Linked DNA regions of Homo sapiens: region 2 is linked to region 1. Evidence: promoter capture Hi-C in human tissues and cell types (Jung and others, 2019). All regions are on one chromosome and are shown on one strand. Each heading gives the region's core, a stretch centred on a gene start or on the middle of the fragment in contact. The rest is flanking DNA. Distances are from core to core; before and after follow the strand shown.

Region 1 (5,946 bases), core at 2,561-5,060:
AAAATCAAGGTTAAACACCACACTTGACCTTGGGCCTCTTCCAAGCACATGCTCCTTTTTTCTGTTCTAAAGCTTTTTAAAATAAACTTCTATTCCTGCTCTGAAACTTGCCTCGGTCTGTATTTCTGCCTTATGCTTCTCAGTCAAATTCTTTGTTCTGAAGAGGCAAGAAATGAGGTTGCTGCAGACCTGTACAGATTTTCTGCTGGTAACTAAGATACCTTCCACCGATAACATAATGATTTCTAGGATGGGGGACACAGAGGAGCATTGGGAGGTTGCAGAAAAGCCACTAAATGGACACTAGTTATGGGGGTGGTTGGGAGTGAATGACATTGGTTTGATGTCTTTGATGAATCGATGGGTATGGAAGCAAAGGCCTGAAGAATGGTGGAATATCTGCCAAAGAAGGTAGGCTAGAGTGGTGAGGAGGGGAAGCACAGACAAAATGATGGCTCCTGGCAGTAGAAGGAAGAGTTAGTTTGGGGAATTTGGAGAACTTCATGTCATTCAACGTGATGGAAACATTTGGTACAGAAGGAAGAAAGAACAAATGTGGCAAGAGATGAGGCCGAACTGGGGAAGGAGTTGCCCTTCATAAGGAATCTTGAAGGGGTGTGGGCCTTACCTAAGAGAGGAAGCCAGTGGAGGATCCTGGGTGGGGCGGGGACACAGATGAATTCTATTTACATTTTACAAAGATTACTCTGGTTGTAGCATGAAGACAGACCAAAATGGGACAAGGGTGGGAATAGAAATGACAGAGGCCTGATCTAAGTCAGTGACCTTGGCAAGCGAGGAGGAAAAAATACTTGAGAGACAGTTAGGAAGTAGAGTAATTGGGGTTTATCGGTGAATCAGCAGGAAAAGGGAGAAGGCTGGTTGGTGGTACCACTCAACAGTATAGGCAAGGTAGGAGTTGAAGCAATTGTGATTAGGAAGGACCTCTCACTTTTGATGCTTGTCCCTTTCAGAATGGCAAACCAAGCTTAGGTGAAGCCTAGATATTTGGGGGTTACTTTCTAACCCTATTGCTTGGACTCAACCATGCTGGTGTCTGAGCTCCTCTACTCAGACAAATGTTGCTTTCAGTAAGTTGCAAGCAAAGCAAAAGAAAGACATTCACCTACGGCCCTTCAGAAAAGCAAGCATGCTGCATGATGAACTCTGGTGCCCAGGAGGCAAGAAATAAAAAACACTTTTAATGTAACCAACTTTCCATGCCCCACCCTCACCCCAGGCGTCTGCATACACAAATCAAAACCATCTTAAGTCATGGAATGAAAAAAAATTAAAAGCAAACTAAAAGCACTTCCTGTGAGGTGAATGGAAATTTTTGCCCAGTTAATTTTCCAGGCACGTGAAAGCAGTTCTGAATATTTTAAACCACAAGTACTTGTATTCTTGACCAAGATTTTTGAGAAGGCGAGGCATGGGAAGGATCATTGAAACAGGACTTTGACATAAAACATTGTTTACATAGAAGTGAGCTCTTCTCCACTATCGGATCAATTTACCACCCAGTGTCTGACAAACTGAGAAGCGAGAGGGTTGGGAAAAAGCAAAGAGATACATATCAAACAAAACCACACATATCCAGTTGAACTAAAGCTGAATTTAACCATAACTTGTGCAACTTTTCTCCCCTTGAGGTAGAAACATTACACCTCCAATTGACCAGGACATCTTTTTTTGCATTCAAATTATCTTGGAATTTCCTCTAGGACCTAAGTATCCTTCCACCATGAAAATAGGAGACCAAAAAAAGTAATGCTTCCAGTAATTTCTAGCCAAATAAATGAGGATAAGTGTGTGAGTGTGGTGGGGTAGTTAAGAGTTTGGAATCCAGAGTTTCACTGTCTGGATTTGAACAGGCTCCGTTGCTCATCAGCTCTGTGACTCCGGGCAAATGACTGAATCTCTCTAACTCTCAGTTTTCTCATCTATGAAATGAGAATAAGTAACAGACTCTCCCTCGCTGAGTTGTTTGAGAACGGGATCAGACAATGCACGTGGAGCCCCGTGTCTGGCACACACTATGTCCTCATTGCATATTTATTATTAGGTTTCTGCTTTGTATTTTTCTCTGTGCAACAGCCCTGAGCTCTAGAACTTATGACAGCTTTTCTCAAGTGAAGTTAAAGTTCCCCATACTCAGTTCCAGAGCTAGGCCTCACCTAGGTTGGAAGAAGTCAATTGTTCTCCACTGCCTGCCTGTGTGCTGGGAAAGGACTCTAGCACAGTGCCGGTGGGGCTGGAAGCCTTTCCTCATGATGCTACGGGGAGTACAGTGAAAAGGGAGGAGATTGGGGTAGCAAGGTCCCAGGGGTCCTGGCAGCCCAGGCTCTACTTCTCAGGCTAGCTCAGTCCCTCAAACAGCTTCCTTCACACCCACTGCTGAGACCCAGGAGCCCTACAGAAGGTAGCTAGGGGAAGCTTCAGCAGCTAGGGGGATCCCTGCAGGATCAGCCTCCTCCTTACCTTGCAGACCCCTTGGCTGTGGTCTGGCATTCCTAGTGGCTGGCCTAAAGCCCCAAACCTGGAATCTGTTTCAGAGCCTGGACCTTTTGGACTCACACCTTGGTTTCCCTGGCCAGCTGATTTCAGCTTCTCATCTAAATGTCATTTCTGCAGGCTAAGGGAAGTCCAGCCTGGATCTAGCATCTTGGAAGCGCGTTCAGACTTCTGGATGGAGGGATCAGCAGGCCTTGGTATTGGTGGTTCTACCTGCTTCGGTTAAGAGTGAGGACTCTGGAGCCAGACTCTCTAAATCATAGCACTGACACTTACTATATGACTTGGGCCAGGTTCGTTACCTGTCTGTGCCTCAGTTTTCCTCATCTGTAAAATGGGAGATTAGTGGTCACCATTGGGATGATTAAGAAGATTAAATGAGTTAATGTATGTATAAACTATAGTTATAATGTAAATATATATACAAACAGTAACCATTTACATGCATATAAAACATAATATAAATGTAATATTAGCTATATTCATATATAAAAATAGGTATATTTTATATATAAAATATATTACATTTAATTTTTTACATTTTGCATTAAGATATATTATTTCATATAAAACATTTAAGTACATATACATATAATTATCTATGTAATTATTATTGTTATTGTTGTTATTGTCTACTTTACCTCCCTGCAGGGATGGGGAGACCACGGCAGGCTTTTAAACATTCTTGGTCTCACTGAGCCGTAGGTGAGGAATCCCTGGTTCCTACAGACTCTGCTGTAATATGAGGAGCAGGGTTTAAGTTAGTTTAAAACTGACCCCATCATTTGAAACATTGCAATCTACAATGAATGCCACATAAATATCATTTCTCAGATTCCTATGATGCTCTTCTTTCAGATCTTTTCACTTCAATTTCTATAATAATTTTGTTTGTTTCTTGTCCTATTTCAAAGGCTTTCTTATCTCTGGAGCACCTAGCATAAGATAGAAATGTGTCAAAATATATGTTTTATTCATCATGTGAGTATTTTTAGGTCCTGTTAACCCCCATAACTATTGATTCAGAGAAGTAGGGTGGTTCTGAAAAATACAGGCATAATCTCTTTAACTTGTTTTATAGGAACCAGAATAAGGGTAATGTTTTCCTCTGTCTTCAAAATCATCAATAATCCATGCATTGTTTAACTCATGTCATAAGCAATAATGCCTTTCATATAGCCATTGGCATCAAAGAAGAAACACCCCCTTGATTTGATGGTAAGCGTGACACTACATAAACTCCCAGAAAACCCACTTCCTTTCCAGCAAATAGAAAACAACCGAGAGCCTGAATTCACTGTCAGCTTTGAACACTGAACGCGAGGACTGTTAACTGTTTCTGGCAAACATGAAGTCAGGCCTCTGGTATTTCTTTCTCTTCTGCTTGCGCATTAAAGTTTTAACAGGTAAGTGGTGTATTGAATATTTCTTATTAAGTTATAATTCAAGTAAACATTAAGAAAAAGCAAAGGTAGAAAAATTACGCACCCAAAAGACAGTGGTTTTGGTTTTTGAAAGTAGGAATAGTTTCAGGATATGGCCAAGGGCACCATGTCACTCATGTCACTGTGGATGGCATTGAGTTTGCATTGCTGCCTTTGATACTGTGTCTTGAGATGAAAAACATGTTTCATCAGACCATTAAATTTTTAAATTACCTGCTTGGAGTTACCTGTCAGTGGATAAACTAGCAGAGTGGCTTACTGTTCTTAGAGAAAGATGAAAGGCAAAATGACTTGTGTCAACAGAATGAAAATTAAATAGCTCTGGCATTTGGACTGGGAATTCTTTCTGTGGTAGAAAATAAAATGGGAAGTCTTTGAAAAGAAGGATTTTGATTTTAATCTTACCTGGATGATCTGTTATCTGAAATGTCCAGGGCACCATAGAGTTTTTATTGACACTAAGTATCAGAGTTCACCCTAAAAAGCCAAGGAGGAAAGGATAATGTAAAAATACTTCCTAGCCCCTGTAGACCTTACAAAAAAGATCATTCTGGAGTCCCTGATTCCTTCTCTTGAATGGCATATAGCAGACTCTATATGGACAATTTAAATAATGCTACATACAATGTAAGTTAATACACGTGTTTCTGCTGCTTTTTACTGTATATAATTTGTACTACTTTTGTTTTCTCTTTCACACTGAGCCCTATTCTTGAGGTTGAAAAAAGGAAAGTTAAGTAATATTAAATAACTTAAATAATCAAATAAACTAAAAGTGAAGGCAGAACTTTTAGTAGGTATGATCCTATCTAGGGATACATTTTTTCAGTGGCAAAAAAATAGACCTTACTGTTCTTACAAAAAATGAAAAAAAAATGAAATCAAATTGATCAAATGTTTCATCTTGTGCTGGCTCAAAGTGAGTTAAGTGCAGTTAAGAGGATTGAGGAATGTAGAATGAGCACAAGGACAGTTTTGGGCTACTTGCTGGTTTATGCCTTTTCTAGAATCTCATGAAGTCCTTTAGCGGCATGAATGACATGAGCAGCTTTGGAATTTATATTCATTCTTCATTCATCCATTTACTCATGTAGCATTGAGCACCTGCCTGGTAGCAGGTACTGTGCCAGATGGTGTATGTACAAGGATGAGCAAAACCAGGTCAACCCCTGTTCTTTGGAAGGTAACTGCATGGTAGAGAGAGATATATTAATCAAATAATCCCATTGATTAATGATAATTACAGGCAAAACTCAATTATATGAGGGAATGTAACAAGGAGCTTGACTAGACTGGGTGGGTGTGGAGGTGTAGCTGAGGAGCAGGGTTCATTGAAGTCTTTCCTGTGCAAGTGGCACTTGAGCGGAGATTTCAAGGACAAGGTAGCAATCAATGGGGAGAACGGTATGAAGGTAGGGAAGAACGTTCCATACCATGGAAGGAACAAGTGCAAAGAGCCTGTGGCAGGAAGGAATGAGGTAAGGTTAGGGAACTAGAAGAAAGCAGACAGATGTGCCTGAGCACAAAGAGGGAAGAGGCTGAGCTTGGTCCAAGATGACCAACTGGTCCAAGTTGGTCCAAGGTGAGGCTGGAAAGGAAAGTAGAGGCCAGACCATTCAGACCATATAGTCTATGTTCCAGATTTTGGATATTCTTCCAAGAACGTTGGTACCATTCGTGGAAGGGTTTGTTTGTATTGATAAAAATCATTCAACTAGGCCAAACCAATTTGGGCAGTTCTGGTTGTGGTATTATGCTCAGGAGAATTAAAGTAGCATCGGTGTCAATTCTGTGGAAGGTGAGATCCAGCCTTAGGTAGGATTGTTTTAAGTTTCCAGATTAAGCTGACGAATAATTTGTATTCTGGAACAATATTCATCGTAGATTCTAAATGAATACAACCAATGTTCACTCTCATTATAAAGAAAGCCATGAGATGTGGCATGCTGTTTGGCATGTGGCAAACCTGAGGCACGAGTGGCTAAAT
Region 2 (5,946 bases), core at 316-2,815, 63 kb before region 1:
TTTTTGTGTTTGACAGCTAAAGAAAAGAAGCCCTCTTACAACAGGGGTCTATGTGAAAATGCCCCCAACAGAGCCAGAATGTGAAAAGCAATTTCAGCCTTATTTTATTCCCATCAATTGAGAAACCATTATGAAGAAGAGAGTCCATATTTCAATTTCCAAGAGCTGAGGCAATTCTAACTTTTTTGCTATCCAGCTATTTTTATTTGTTTGTGCATTTGGGGGGAATTCATCTCTCTTTAATATAAAGTTGGATGCGGAACCCAAATTACGTGTACTACAATTTAAAGCAAAGGAGTAGAAAGACAGAGCTGGGATGTTTCTGTCACATCAGCTCCACTTTCAGTGAAAGCATCACTTGGGATTAATATGGGGATGCAGCATTATGATGTGGGTCAAGGAATTAAGTTAGGGAATGGCACAGCCCAAAGAAGGAAAAGGCAGGGAGCGAGGGAGAAGACTATATTGTACACACCTTATATTTACGTATGAGACGTTTATAGCCGAAATGATCTTTTCAAGTTAAATTTTATGCCTTTTATTTCTTAAACAAATGTATGATTACATCAAGGCTTCAAAAATACTCACATGGCTATGTTTTAGCCAGTGATGCTAAAGGTTGTATTGCATATATACATATATATATATATATATATATATATATATATATATATATATATATATATATATATTTTAATTTGATAGTATTGTGCATAGAGCCACGTATGTTTTTGTGTATTTGTTAATGGTTTGAATATAAACACTATATGGCAGTGTCTTTCCACCTTGGGTCCCAGGGAAGTTTTGTGGAGGAGCTCAGGACACTAATACACCAGGTAGAACACAAGGTCATTTGCTAACTAGCTTGGAAACTGGATGAGGTCATAGCAGTGCTTGATTGCGTGGAATTGTGCTGAGTTGGTGTTGACATGTGCTTTGGGGCTTTTACACCAGTTCCTTTCAATGGTTTGCAAGGAAGCCACAGCTGGTGGTATCTGAGTTGACTTGACAGAACACTGTCTTGAAGACAATGGCTTACTCCAGGAGACCCACAGGTATGACCTTCTAGGAAGCTCCAGTTCGATGGGCCCAATTCTTACAAACATGTGGTTAATGCCATGGACAGAAGAAGGCAGCAGGTGGCAGAATGGGGTGCATGAAGGTTTCTGAAAATTAACACTGCTTGTGTTTTTAACTCAATATTTTCCATGAAAATGCAACAACATGTATAATATTTTTAATTAAATAAAAATCTGTGGTGGTCGTTTTCCGGAGTTGTCTTTATCATCCTTGCATTTGAATATTGTGTTCAAATTTTTGATTGATTCATTCAGTATCTGGTGGAGTCTCCAATATTAGAAATACTGGAAACAAACTGAAAAACCACAAAAGGACAAATAATGCTTCATGAGTCAGCTTTGCACCAGCCATTACCTGCAAGTCATTCTTGGAAGGTATCCATCCTCTTTCCTTTTGATTTCTTCACCACTATTTGGGATATAACGTGGGTTAACACAGACATAGCAGTCCTTTATAAATCAATTGGCATGCTGTTTAACACAGGTTCTTCACCTCCCCTTTCTTACCGCCTGCTTTCTCAGCTCAACTATCACAGGCATTACAGTTGTCATGGCAACCCCAATGTTGGCAACCACGTCCCTTGCAGCCATTTTGATCTGCCTTCCTGAAATATAGAGCTTTTCCCTGTGGCTTCCAAATGAACTATTTTGCAAATGTGGGGAAAACACACACCTGTGGTCCTATGTTGCTATCAGCTGGCACACCTAGGCCTGGCACACTAAGCCCTCTGTGATTCTTGCTTAACCAATGTATAGTCTCAGCACATTTGGTTTCCACTTAAGGTTTCCTATTTTTGACCTCCACATCCTGTTATTGTCTTTTGCAGTGATTCTCAGTGTGGTCAGGGACCACCTGTAACTGAATCCACTGGGTCACTTACTAAAAACACCAATTCACACTTATTCCCAGATGCGTTGAATCAGAATCTTTGAGTGGTGGGGCCAGGAGTTTGTATTTCCAAAAATCTTCCCAGTGCTTCTTATACCCATCAAGTTTTGAGAATCACTGCTTAGGCAACTCTGTCTGTGTCTCTTCCTCTGTCTCTCCCCCTTGCTCATTCTCTTGCTTGCTCTTGCTCTCTTTCTCTCTTTCTTGCCCCAGCAAGTGCTAACAAACACACAAGACAGCACATAGTAAGCATTTCAAAAGGGGTTGTTAAAAAAAAACGAATAGGTCTTTCAAAGTAAGGTAATGATTATTACCTAGAATGAGCTCCTTTTCTGTGGAAGACTGTGCTTCTTGCTCTCTAGGCCTTTGGATGGTAGCCATGAAGAAAAACACCAATCAGGAGCCTCAGTGGATAGTATATCATTTCCACTCCTCTAAACATCTTTAGAGAGATTACTCTTTTTCATAGTTGATGGGCAGATCTGAGTGACAGAGAGTGCCTTACACAAGTGATGCCCTCCAGGTACCTTTCAGACACCCTTAGATAATGGACTACTTTATATAAGCTTAATATTTCCTCTGCTATTGCCTAAAATTCTACCATTTGTTGTTCACTGAGATAAGACTTGCCCTCTTCATTCAGTCTCAATCTTATAAAAATAAAATACCCTTTAGCTCAAAAAAGCTTCCCCTATGGCAGAAGAATTGTACAAGAAAGACTATGACCCGGGGTTCCGCTGAAAGGGGAGAAAGCAAATATGAGGGTAAGGGAGTGCATCTGGGCACCAAATGAAAGCCTCTTCTAATTCCCATGTCATTTATGAGAGAAGATTCTATGTCTGTAGTACTCAGAGAGGTGAACTGCCCCCAAATCAGAGGACCAACTGTCACATGGGATTCCAACCTTCATCATCATCTCCATTTCTGGGATCAGGGTCCTGGGGCAGCTCCAAGCCCAAATAATCCATGAACCCAAAAGGGGCTTGGCCTACCATGCAGGGGGAGCCTGGGCGTTGCAACCCTCCTCCTTGGAACCACTTGTCACAGGCAAGACTGTGGATGACAAGGGAGCCGGATAGAGTGGCCAGGGGCTCCAGAGTCAGTTCCTCCTCCAACATGGCTCCTAGCACACGCCTCTGCTCATGTCTCTTCTTCAGCATGGTACTCGCATTCCTGCTACTTCCCATTTCTTCATTTCTCACCTCCAAATATTATAATCCTTCATTGTCACACCCATCAAGACTAATCCCAAATTTTGCCTCCACCGTCAGATTTGCTGACACTTTAAGCTCGTGGATTTCTCCTCTTTTGTTTCATAGCTATACTTGGTTTCACCTCTAATAATTTCAAGCATGCATGTCTTTTCTACCTAGTTAGATCAGGAACTTCTCCAAGACAGGGATAATCACAACTTTAGGCACACAGTAGATGCTCCAATAAATGAATTGAGGAGTTGGGGAACTAGGACATCCAGGACCGTTTTCCATACAGAACCCATCTGTGTTTTCTTAGGCAGTCCCAGCTTAATCTCTTTCCCATTTGATCATCAGAACTTTGTGCAGGTCTACTCATCTTTTGGCTTAAACCTTAAAGACTCTGGACTGTGAGTTCCAGCTGCCTACTCTGTCCCACTCATTCTACTTTGATCTTAATCCAGTCTTACTTCCAATCTTTTTCTTTCTTTGTTGAATTCTTATTTTTATTCTTTTTCTCTTTTGAATTGTTGGTTGTTGCTAAAATTGACTATATTTTTATACCCAGTCTGAGCCTTCTTCCGTATCCACAGTTAATAGTTCATTCAACTTAGTTGGGACTGAGCTCGTGAAACATTGATGTCACTGTGTTGTTAACTGGAGCAAAGCCAGTTGAGAAGTTCAAGACTTTATAAATTTAGTTATTCTTTTGGGAGTTCTCAAAGCAAAGGAGAACATGGCTTTCTCCGGAAAGTTATTCCCATTGCCTTACTTGTTGTTTGCACCTGGTTAGAGCCATGACTCAGGCTCCTTAGAAACCTTGTTTTATTTCATATATATATATTTTTTCTCATCTCAGGTCAATTTTTTCTGTTCAGTCCAGAAACATGACACACCCTATTGGTAAAAAGGGAGGAAAATTTATTCTTTCCTCTTTTATGTTTCCTTGGCTACATGCTGGGATAGGGGCTCATGGTAAGTTTGCCAGATTCAACCAAAAAACGCCACAAAAACAAGAAAACAGGATGCCCTGTATTTTATCTGACAACGCTATCAGCAGGAAAGCTTATGCTTCTAATGCAGTGTGAATAAAAAGTGTACTAGAGGCTGGGTGCAGTGGCTCACACCTGTAATCCCAGCACTTTAAGAGCTGAGGTGGACAAATCACTTGAGGTCAGGAGTTTGAGACCAGCCTGGCCAACATGGTGAAACCCTGTGTCTACTAAAAATATGAAAATTAGCCGGGTATGGTGGCAGGTGCCTGTAGTCCCAGCTATTCGGGAGGCTGAGGCAGGAGAATCGCTTGAACCGGGAGGCAGAGGTTGCAGTGAGCAAGATCACGCCACTGTACTCCAGCCTGGGTGACAGGGCAAGGCTCCATCTCAGAAAAAAAAAAAAGAAAAAGAAAAAGAAAAGAAAAGTGTACTAGAGACCCCTCTTCAGAAGTTTCTGAGCAAGAACAACTTGAGACTGTGACCACTGTTCCAACTGTAACACAATCTCCTGTTCTCACTTCCAGGCACATGTGGGATTGATGCTATGTCACTGGAAGCTAATGAGACCTGCAGAAGAGGTAGCTATTTCTCTTCTAAGCAATTTTCTTAGAGGAAGTTAACCCATCCTGCTGCATATTGCAAGGAACTTGACATTCAGACCCTTCTTGGAAATCTGCTTTCATGGGCACACTCTATGTTCTTGCATTTATTTCGTACAATAATCATCTGAAGCATTTGGAAAAAGTGCAGATTGAAGTTCCTCTGAACCAGAACTTCTCACTTATAAGGTCTGAGGCAGGGCCTGGGGATTTTAATTCTTCAGAGAGCCTTTAGGCCATAGTTCATAAGCTCTGATCTAACTCAGGATTCTACCATCATAGATGATTAGCAAAGGATATTGGAAATGATCCTCAGATTTTAGAAGAACATAAGGCTCGGAGACTTTAGGGACCTTGTCCAAGGTCCTATGGCGAGGCAGGACTTGAACTAGGCTAAGAAGTCAGATCTCCAGGTTTTCACATCAGGGCTCTGCAGAGGGTGGCACTGTGCACCTTTCTGACCAGGGGCTGTCCTTTCCAGGCTGCTTCTAGGACGTCCCTGCTACCACTCCAGGCCACCCACAGAAAACCCACTTTTCCATCCATCTCCATCCCAAGTACTCCTGTTACATCTCGGTGTGATTATCACCACTGTTGCTGCTCCAATGTTGGCTTCATCTTTTCTCTTTCTCCTGTACCCTTCCAGAGGACTTAGGAGAAGCATCTCAGGTGACCCAGCCTGTTCTTAGCAATCCTACAGAAAAATGCTGCAGGCGGACAACACAAAGCAAAACGCTGCCAATAAACAGTCTGTCAGCAAAGCCGGCAGTACACTGAGAAAGCTCCTATTGCCACTGGAAGTCGTGGAACAACCCATTGAGATGATACATGCTCTTTTAATCACACACAGTCAAGTTACTATAGCAACTAACAGTGTTTCAGAAACATGGTATTAATCACACAAAGTAATACTATCTATTTGGACAAAAAGAAGCAGCTTCCTCTGAGAGGAATTGTAAGAAATATATTTCAGGGGATGATCGCAAATTTTAGAAGATAACACAGATGACTTCTCATGAGCAGCACTTTCCTGAAGGACATCATCACCTTTTTCTTCCTGCTTGTCATTTTCTTCCTGCTTCCACCTTGTCATGTTAGCCGTGCAGCATGCATCCCACTGGTAGCTTTTCTCTTCACCTTGCTGAAAATGAGTTTTTCTGGCCAGGTGCGGTGGCTCATGCCTGTAATCCC

The links. Contacts are between HindIII fragments. The study calls those that stand out against the background at their distance.
Region 2: a contact is called between a fragment that was not itself captured here and the fragment with the promoter of ICOS in region 1, in 1 of the 25 tissues and cell types used here (psoas muscle).

Annotation. Positions count from the first base shown.
Region 1 is chr2:203,932,953-203,938,898 of GRCh38, forward strand. It overlaps ICOS (inducible T cell costimulator), which reads left to right and starts at 3,811. Exons shown (of 5, transcript NM_012092.4): 1 at 3,811-3,920. The coding sequence starts at 3,863. LOC101927840 (a long non-coding RNA gene) reads right to left here. Exons shown (of 4, transcript XR_427213.4): 2 at 4,365-4,436; 3 at 3,156-3,249. The HindIII fragment of the contact is 7,273 bases long and covers 1,713-5,946 here.
Region 2 is chr2:203,872,692-203,878,637 of GRCh38, forward strand. It overlaps CTLA4 (cytotoxic T-lymphocyte associated protein 4), which reads left to right. Exons shown (of 4, transcript NM_005214.5): 4 at 17-1,274. The coding sequence ends at 121. Among named protein-coding and RNA genes, the nearest start is that of CTLA4, 7.9 kb to the left of the region's middle. The HindIII fragment of the contact is 3,747 bases long and covers 1-3,439 here.